Regions from separate parts of the Homo sapiens genome. Here region 1 is linked to region 2. The links are contacts of gene promoters, found by promoter capture Hi-C in blood cells and fetal thymus (Javierre and others, 2016). All regions are on one chromosome and are shown on one strand. The core of a region is centred on a gene start or on the middle of the fragment in contact, and the rest is flanking DNA. Distances in the headings are between cores, read along the strand shown.

Evidence for each region. Contacts are between HindIII fragments. The CHiCAGO score rates a contact against its expected background, and 5 or more counts as called.
Region 1: a contact is called between a fragment that was not itself captured here and the fragment with the promoter of CAMTA1-DT in region 2, in 1 of 17 cell types (neutrophils). The highest score is 5.3, in neutrophils.

Annotation. Positions count from the first base shown.
Region 1 is chr1:3,834,812-3,839,644 of GRCh38, reverse strand. CEP104 (centrosomal protein 104) reads left to right here. Exons shown (of 22, transcript NM_014704.4): 7 at 1-37; 8 at 526-681; 9 at 2,126-2,353; 10 at 2,953-3,150; 11 at 4,553-4,720. Among named protein-coding and RNA genes, the nearest start is that of CEP104, 20 kb to the left of the region's middle. RefSeq lists an enhancer at 309-808. The HindIII fragment of the contact is 6,071 bases long and covers 226-4,833 here.
Region 2 is chr1:6,782,768-6,787,789 of GRCh38, reverse strand. It overlaps CAMTA1-DT (CAMTA1 divergent transcript), which reads left to right and starts at 2,810. Exons shown (of 3, transcript NR_149049.1): 1 at 2,810-3,132; 2 at 3,567-3,641; 3 at 3,745-3,898. It overlaps CAMTA1 (calmodulin binding transcription activator 1), which reads right to left and starts at 2,336. Exons shown (of 23, transcript NM_015215.4): 1 at 2,215-2,336. The coding sequence starts at 2,259. RefSeq lists silencers at 1,584-1,763, 1,774-2,043, 2,254-2,413, 2,754-3,163, 3,294-3,353 and 1 more and enhancers at 2,619-3,293, 3,294-3,970. The HindIII fragment of the contact is 4,377 bases long and covers 2,585-5,022 here.

The DNA.
Region 1 (4,833 bases), core at 2,012-4,511, 2.9 Mb after region 2:
CAAGAAACTAAAACAAGCCATTGCTGATTTGCAAAAGGTATTGCCTTTGGAGAAAACAGTTCCTAATTTATGCCTGTAATAGGTTTTATGTATACTTAGAATAACTACATGGTAAAAGAAACCAGTTACTAAAAGCCGTGAAGTTAGTGTGAGTTCAAAGATCTCAGCAAAATAAAGTTACGGAGACAGATAAGCACTTTAAAAATGTAAATGGAAGCAGAAGCTTTACCTCTTCAGACTCACGTTCAGGTGTCAGGGTCAGCTACCTCGTTACTAGGACCCTGAGCCCAATGGGAAAATAGGAAAACCAGCTATCCTGAAAGTCATAACCAAACCATGAGCTTATTAAATGCCCATACAGCAACAGCAGCCAGACCTTTGCTGAGTGTGGCCCATTCCTTCCATTTCCCTGTGCTCACTCCCTCTCCTTGCAAGACGGTTCACGCGTGATTCTTAAAAATTAGCTTTGCATTTGATGTGAGTTGATCCAAATTTGAAAGAAAAAGCAAATATTTTGTGCTTCAGGTTGGTGAACGCCTTGGGAGGTATGAGGTAGAGAAACGCTGTGCCGTGGAGAAGGAAGACTACGATCTCGCCAAGGAGAAGAAGCAGCAGATGGAGCAGTATCGTGCCGAGGTGTACGAGCAGCTGGAGCTGCACAGCCTCCTGGATGCCGAGCTGGTGGGTGCAGGAGCCCAGACGGAGTGGAGGAAAGCCTAGGAGAACAGAGATTCAACTGTGTGGTTCACAACAGTGGATAGATGTCTTTGAAGTGTAGTGTAAAACACTCTGCAGTGCTCAGGGGACAGTTATGGATGGCCTCAGCTCTGTGCCTACGTCAGGGAGGCTTTGCCTCAGCATGTTCTTTCAGGAGACTCACAGTCGTGGGAAAGGGAACAAACCGGGGTCAGGAAAACCGAGGCCCTGCTGCTTTTCTGCTGCATCCCTTCATCTCTCCAGCTGCTTCCTTATTTGGAAAAGGCAGTGATGACCCTGCCCCACTGACCCCTCAGTGTTGTAAGGATCAAGTGAGAACGTAATGCTAACAGCTTCGGTGTATTGAGAACATATTTCCCATAAGGTGCTCTGCCTCTGATTTTAGAACTCATGCAAATGGGGCACTCAGCCCACGTTACAGATTAGGAAATGAAGGTTCTGAGATACGGAATAGTGATTGAGAGTGCACACTCTCAAGGCCAGGCATGGTGGCTCACGCCTGTAATCCCATCACTTTGGGAGGCCAAGGCTGGAGGATTGTTTGAGCCCAGGAGTTCGAGACCAGCCTGGGCAACATAGAGAGACCCTGTCTCTACAAAAAGTAAGTAATAGCCAGGCCTGGTGGCACACACCTGTAGTCCTAGCTACTCAGGAGAGTGAGACAGGAGGATCACTTGGGCCCAGAAGTTCGAGGCTGCAGTGAGCTACGATCGCACCACTGCACTCCAGCCTTGGTGATGGAGCGAGACCCTGCCTCTGAAAAACAAGAGAGCACACTCTGGAGCTGGACTGTCTGGGTTCAAATCCGGGCACCACCATTCCAGCTCTGTGATCACAGACTAATTCTTATCAGCTTTATGCCTCAGTTTTCCATCAGCTTTCAAATGGGGGTAAACAGAGTAAGCATTAATGAGCCTACCTGTCCAAAACACTCAGTACCATGCCTAGTGTGCAGCAACTGGTCAGTCAGCTTTGCTTGTTGGGATGACACAACATCACTTTCCTTTGTACACACAGTGAATAGCAGTGCCAGATTTTGAATAAAAGTCCACTTGGGTCCAGCCCAGGTGCTTTCTCCACACCACCGTGCTCCTGCAGGGGCACATATGTGTGGACATGCTCCATGCACAAATGCTCATTCCTTCACTAGCATTTTGGATGTGTATGTCACTTTTGTAGTCAACACAGAAATGTGGAGAGACAACTGAGATGAGTGCAACTTGATTGTGTGGGACTTTCAAGTAGATTTCACTCTGTGGAAGTTTCTCTTTGGTTTTGAAATTTTTCATTGTGCCAAGGAGCCTCTTCCAGCACAGCTTTCTAAAGTCTTATTCATCTGAAGGAATGAGATAGATATATCTGGCGTGGCAGTGGCATTTGAAATTAAATGTTCCTTTTTGTTCTCTAGATGCGAAGACCTTTTGATTTGCCCCTCCAGCCCCTCGCTCGTTCTGGCAGTCCTTGCCACCAAAAGCCAATGCCCTCACTACCACAACTGGAAGAAAGAGGAACAGAAAACCAGTTTGCAGAACCTTTCCTTCAGGAAAAGCCTTCATCATATTCTCTAACTATTTCTCCTCAGCATTCTGCAGTAGACCCGTTACTCCCTGCCACAGATCCTCATCCAAAGATCAATGTAGGTAATTCTGTTTCAGATTGGCGTTCAATTTATTTGGGTATTTGTAAAGGACATGTGTTGTGCCAGGTGCTGTTCCCATGCATGGGGTGCATGAGTGCTCCCCAGCCAGACCCACCTCTGTTCCATTCTAGGAGCCATAGTGCTGAGTGAGAGCATAGCCACATAAGGAATAGGCCTAATGACACCTTGTGAGCATGTTTATTAAAATCAGGCTTGATGCTTATTTCTAAGCAATAAACTAAGAAAATATCAGAGATCTTGTCAGAAAAAAAGATGTAATAGCCTTTACTTTAGTAGTCTCCATGTCAGTTGAACTGAAATTGCTACCAGTAAACAGTCATTGAGGTGGAATCTACCTTGCTTTTTTTTATTAGGTCTGTAATGAGTTTAGAAAGTAATAGAAAGCCTCATCTAATCTTTTCAATTACATCCTATTTGTTGTATAAATTATTCTAATCTGATGATACTGATATTTAGCAAAATAACATCTTTCAGATCAGGTAAGTAAGCGCAGTAAGCCTGCCAGTGAGAGTTGCACTGGAGAATGTGACCTATGGAGCTCCCCAGCACTTTCCTCTCTCCTTCACTCACTGCAGGCAGAGTCCCTGCCCTACGATGAGCGGCCTCTTCCAGCTATTCGTAAGCATTATGGGGAGGCAGTGGTGGAGCCGGAAATGAGTAATGCAGACATCAGCGATGCTCGGAGGGGAGGCATGTTAGGGGAGCCAGAGCCCTTAACCGAGAAGGCCTTGAGAGAAGCCAGCTCTGCCATCGATGTGTTGGGAGAAACCTTGGTAAAAAAAAAAAAAAAAAAAAAAAACGGGGTGGCAGAGGGGAGGCTAGTCTATATGGTACGCACACCTCTGTGTACTTACACATAAAGGAGGGAAAACGCCCACGGCTTTGCATTTGTAATATTGTTGACTTCCCTTTGTTCTTCCTGAATTGGAAAGTCTTTTGTTAACTTTTTTTTTTTTTTTTTTTGAGACGGAGTCTTGCTCTTCACCCAGGCTGGAGTGCAGTGGCAAGATCTCCGCTCACTGCAAGCTCCGCCTCCTGGCTTCACCCTGTTCTCCTACCTCAGCCTCCTGAGTAGCTGAGACTACAGGTGCCCGCCACCACGCCTGGCTAATTTTTTGTAATTTTTTTTTAGTAGAGATAGAGTTTCACCACGTTAGCCAGGATGGTCTCGATCTCCTGATCTTGTGATCCACTCACCTTGGCCTCCCAAAGTGCTGGGATTACAGGCATGAGCCACTGCGCCCGGCCTTTTTTTTTTTTTTATGAAACAGAGTGTCACTCTGTCACCCAGGGTGGAGTACAGTGGCGTGATCATAACTCACTATAGCCTTGAACTCCTGGCCTTGGCCTCCCAAAGTGCTGGAATTACAAACATTAGCCACCGTGCCTGCCCTTCTGTAAATTATAAATTATGTGAAACAGCAAAAACATGAGCTAAGATGTATCAGTGAGTACTCATTTCAGCCTGGGTGTTTCCTTCTGGCATTCATGGAGCTTGTATTAAACAACTGCTCCCTTCTGAATACCAGCTAATTCCAGCGCAAAAGGATGGCATAGCAAAAGATGGAAGTATCTCCTTATAGAAATGAGTAGAGTTGGCCAGGCGCAGTGGCTCACGCCTATAATCCCAGCACTTTGGGAGGCCAAGGCGGGTGGATCACGAGGTCAGGAGTTCAAGACCAGCCTGGCCAAGATGGTGAAACCCCATCTCTACTAAAAATACAAAAATTAGCTGGGCATGGTGTCAGGCACCTGTAATCCCAGCTAGCTGGAAGACTGAGGCAGGAGAATTGCTTGAACCCGCAGGGGGACAGAGGTTGCAGTGAGCCGAGCCACTGCACTCCAGCCTGGGCGACAGAGTGAGAGTTTGTCTCAAAATAAAAAGAAATGAGTAGGGTTTTCCCTCGTTCTCAGCTTTAAAATATTTCTCTTGGAGAATTTAATACTTTTTATATTTTAACATAGTCTTAAATTTCCTTATCAGAGAAAATTATTTCTCTAAATATACATATTTATTTGTAAAAGTTCTATTATTAGAAATGAATCATTTTCATTTATAAAAGTTCTGTTCTTAGAAATGAATCATTTTAGTTAAAAAAAAAACAAAGCCTTCAAGTTGTGTAGTGTTGGAGGATGGTTGTGTGATGCCATGAAATGCTGCCTGTTTTGTGGTAGGTTGCTGAGGCCTATTGTAAGACGTGGTCCTACCGAGAGGATGCACTGCTTGCCTTGTCTAAGAAGTTAATGGAAATGCCTGTTGGAACCCCAAAAGAAGATTTAAAGAACACACTGAGAGCATCCGTCTTTCTCGTTAGAAGAGCCATAAAGGACATTGTGACCTCCGTGAGTGCCCTCAGCTGGCGCTGGCTCCAGCGTGCATGGATGAGATCATGCGCCGTACCACAGAAGACCAGAGCAGCTTGAGAGAGGACCAGTTGGTCATTGACGTGGTCACC
Region 2 (5,022 bases), core at 1,561-4,060:
GCGATGCGTATGGGCAGGCACTGTACGCTTCGCACATTCAGGGACTTGGTGAACACGCAGGATGTCGTTCTGCTTATTCAGTACAGTACACATTACAAACCAAAGAATAGTCAGAATTGGCCATTTATCCGTGATTCTTCTGCTGCTGCTTCTAAGCCTGAAGAGTTACCAACAACGTTAATATCTATCTGTATCATTACACATAAAGGTCCCCATATGCACCCAAAATGTAGAGCTAGTCATCTGACCCTTCCAACTTCCTGTGCACTGTATATGTAATGAATGTGATTTCATCTGTGTATACCTACATGTATGTATATGTAAACAAATGAATATAGCATCATGATCTGGTTCTCCAAAGCAGAACCGGAACAGCAAAAAACAGAAAGCATTCAAATTCCCCCTTCTGAAAGCTACAAGATCTAAAGAAATGTCTGGATCCCACAAGAGACAACACCAGAGCCAAAGGAAGGTTCTAGTACAACAAGGAGCACACAAGCAACCTCTTCCAGGATGGCATGTGGGCGACACGGGTGTCTACACTCCCTTTTCTGAATGGAAAGGCATATGGCTTCTCCTTACCCAGCCAACATGAATACAATTTGAGAAAATTAGAAAAAGTCAAAGTAACAGGCTCACTAAATATGGCTGACTGCGAAGCAGAAGCCACAGAGGAGGATATGAGTTCTCTCAAAAAACAATCGGGAAGTTTATATCCAGGAAAGGTTCAAGGACTCTTGAGTGTGGGACGGACAAAGTCTGGTTCTCACTGCACAGAAGACAGTAATCAAAACATCAAAAAACAAGGCCACATGACCCTTTTCCCAGTGAGGTAGTGTCAACTGATGAAGGTTGCCCCCTCCTGAGACACAAGAGTCAAGTGGAGGCAAAAATATACCCCGGTCTTCCTCAGACACAGGAGCAACTAGTGTGGCCCCTTTTCACTCAAGCACTAGGCACAATGGAAGCCCTGCCCTACATCTTATTGGGGCGCCCACTCTCACCCAGACAAGGAACTCCGAGAAGAGAGAACAAGTCAGTGTAGACACACAAATGGCGAAAGGAGCACGGTGAACGTCCAGTTGTCTCCATAAGAAAAGGAGGGCAACTCAAAGGGTATTTAGGAAATGAGCTCGCCCTAACCCAGCAAAGTGTAAGAGTATGCATGATCTGGAAGAAGTGTCTGCTTTCCTATTTAGAAATGACTTCAGAGCTGCACAAGCCCCCACTATCCACTGGGTGAGGAAAGAAGAACATGGGCAGCCTGAGTCCCCTTGTCCTGGCAAAAAGGGTCAACGGAGAGTGTGCAGAGGCCCCAAAAGAATCCAAAGAAGATGAGCAGATCAGACGGACCCCTGTGCCAAGGAAGGATCGGGGTCACGGAAGGTAAAGGGCAAGGGAGTGTGGAGATCCTCACTTGCCATAGAAACGGAGACCCCACCCTCCTGGCTGTGAGGGTGCAAGGGCAAGAGTAGGATGTGAACGACTGCGAGGGGCGGGGATGCTGCGCAGGCCCCCTTCCCTTCCCGGGAAGCGAAGGGGGAGGGGTCACACGAGGCCCTTCGGCCGAGGGACGCTCGGCAGGACGGGGTCCCCCTGGCGGGGAGAAGCTCGGGGACCCCCCGCCCGCTCAGGGAGGTGTCCACGGGGCTGAAGAGGGTGCCGGAGAGAGTACATCTGGCCCTGCCCGCCGGAGAGCAGGGGGCCGGCGAGGGCTGAGCGCCGGCCGCTGCCGCCCGACGGGGACCGGCCCGGAGCAGTGGGGCGCGGGGCCAGGAGGACCCGAGGCGGATAAACTTTCCGCCCCGCGGCCCCCACCGTGGACCCAGCGCCGGGGGTGCGGGGGCCGCGCAGCGGGCTCGGGAGCGGCGGGGATGCCCGGTCCGGGTGGGGGAGGCGCCGGCCCTCCGCCGGCTCCTCCTCCTCGCTGGGCCCGGTCCCCGCCCCGCGAGCCCCCCGCCCCCTCCGGCCCCAGCCCGCCCCCGGGGGTGGGGTGTGGGGCGCCGCGCTCCGCCGGCCCCGCGAGTCACCTCAGGACTCGGCCGCGCTCCGCCCCCCCACCCCGCCGGCCCCCTCCCCGGCCGGGTCGCCCGCCCGCCCGCCCGCCGCGCCCCCGCGCTCCCGCCCGGCGCCGCCGATGCCCGGGATGTCCGGCGGGGCCGGGTCCCGCCGCCCGCCGCGCCGCCCCCCAGCCCCTCGCGCTCCGGCTCTTACCTTCCGGCTTGTTTTCGGCAGCCATTTCCCCTCCGCGCGCCACATCCTCCTCCTCCTCGCGACCGGGACCCCGAGCGCGCGCCTCGTACCGCCGCCGCCGCCGGCCCAGCCACCCCGCCGCCGCCGCGCACCCGCCCTGGCCCCGCCCCGCGGCCCACGCACAGCTCCCGTTGGGCCGTGCGGCTGCCACTCATCGCTCCCGCCGCCAATCGCCCCGCACCAGGGGTCTCACTACTCTCCGGGAGGAGCGTCCTATCCATCCGGCCCATTGGCTGGTCACCACCCAACGGACTGAAAGGATTGGTCAAGAATCAACGCCCCCTCCCCACCCACTCCCAGGAAAGCCCGCCTTCCGGACCTAAACAAAGCTTCCTAGTGGCCAGAACCCGAAAGAACTGTCCAATCAGGACGGGCCCGACACGGAATATTTCCTCGAGGCCGAGACGTGGCGTTTTGATTGGGCGTCACTACAGTGTTTCCCAGGCCGTCCAGACCAATCAAAGGGGGTTCCCGGAACTCGGGAGCGGCGAAGGGAAGCCCCGCCCCCGAGCGTGACCGTCATGAGGAAGGCGCTCCCTCATTGGCACGCTGGGGCTTTTCCCGCGTGCTCCCGGGGCTGAAGGACGTTCCCGGGGAAGCCGCTGCTGGCGCGTGGGGTCCCGGTGGCTGTGGGGGACGCGCCGGGATCTCCGGGATCCCGCAGCCCGCCGCCGCTGCCGGTGGGGAGCCGGACGCGGGGGGCCTCGGGGCTGAGGTCCGCAGGGGTGCCGCGCCCTGGAGTCCGACTGCCTAGGAGTCCGGGCGTCGCTGCCGGCCGTGGGGGAGGGGCGAGCCTCCCGCCAGGCCCCGCCCCCTCGGCGCCGCGTCCCCACGGCCCCGGCGCCGCCCGCCTGCGCCCGCCTCCTGTGCCCGCCCCCGGTGAGCTCCGTTGTCCCCTTTTCTGGCGGCTTAAAATACCGAAACTTTATTTTGGTCACGTTGCCCATGTGACCCGCGGAGCGGATGACTCATGGTTGCCTGTCCCAGGATGAGGCCGCCGGCCGAAAGCAGAGAAGCGCCAGCCCCGGCCGCCCGGGTGGAGCGCTGGGCAGCCGAGTTTCCCACCCTCCTCAATCCGGAGAGTCCGCGCGGGGCTTTTCCTAATAAATAGCCAGGCACCCGCTGCCCTCGCGCTGCGTACGGGAGCACGTGCCCCCCGGGAGGTGGGCGCCCGCCAGGTGCCCCGGGAACGAGCCTAGGAACCGGGTCCGCCGAGTGCGGCTCTCGGGGCGGCTAGGCGTGCGGGTGGCTGGGCAGCGCTCCCAGGGACCGGCCTCTCTCCGGAGAAAGTAAGGAATTCTGCTCCTGGGCAGGTAATACCGGAAACAAAAGGAGAGGCTGCAATCGCAAATTGTTTAAAAAGAAGAAAAAGGAAAGAAAAGTTGAATGTAAGAGCTCCAGCCCCTCAATGTGATCTTGTACGGTTTGCAGTAAGAACATTTCATTCTTCCGCATTTTATTTTTCCTTTTGCTACTGTTGGTGACAACTAGCAAAATAAGTGAAAAATCCTCGTTCAAGTGTTCTGGCATTAAGATTGACTGTCACACTGAATTCTGTGCCAATCCTAACAACATGTGTTCTTTTTCTGGTCTTCACAAGTAAGAATGTCTTAGGTTTTCCAGAAATAAAGATGTCCCAAAAGAATGTTTTGTGTTACACACTCATTCTTCAAGAAACTTTAATTTTATGAGCCTCAAAAATTGCAAAATTTTAACAACGGCGGGACAATATTTTATCGATTAGCATTCTTAATAGCACCTATGTTGACGATTTGTGTGGAGAAACGGATTCTTAAAAGAAGTGCTGGTGGCATTGTAAATTAGTATATTCCTTTCGAAAAGCAATTTTACAGTATGTATTAAAAGCCATAAAAATGTCTGCATCTTTTGACCCAGTGATCTTACTTCTGGGAATCTGTTCTAAGGAAATAACACTAAATGCCAGAAAAGCTGTATGTGTGAAGGTATTCTTCACAGGATCACTGTACTTAACTACAACAAAAAATTGGGAGCATCCTACATGTGCTAATATTGGGTATTTAGTAAATTGTGTTACATCTACACAGTGGAACATTATGGTAGTTGTAGACATCAGAAACAGAAAATCACCCATTGCTAGATAGAGGGGGCAATACCCAAAATTATGGTGTTCATTTATGAGGTGAGATGATAGGCTAAAAAAACTGCATTTTAAAAAAGACCGATACAGGCCGGGTGCAGTGGTTCACGCCTGTCAATCCTAGCACTTTGGGAGGCCAAGGTGGGCAGATCACTTGAAGCCAGGAGTTCGAGACCAGCCTGGCCAGCATGACAAAACCCCGTCTCCACTAAAAATATAAAAATTAGGTGGGCAAGGTGGCAGGCGCCTGAGGTCTCAGCTACTTGGAAGGCTGAGGCAAGAGAATTGCTTGAACCCAGCGGGCAGAGGTTGCAGTGAGCCAATATCGCACCACTGCACTCCAGCTTGGGTGACAAGAGCAAGACTCCACCTCAAAAAAAAAAAAAATAGACTGATAACATACACCAAATAAATGACGTATGGGGGATTATAAGTGAGTTTTTTTTAATTGCCTATTTTCTATAATATAGCTGTTTTTGTTGTTGTTTTTTGGTTTTTTTTTTGTTTTGTTTTTTTGAGATGGAGTTTCACTCTTGTTGTCCAGGCTGGAGTTCAATGGCGCAATCTCGGCTCACCGCAACCTCTGCCTCCCGGGTTCAAGCGATTCTCCTGCCTCAACCTCCAGAGTAGCTGGGATTACAGGCATGCGC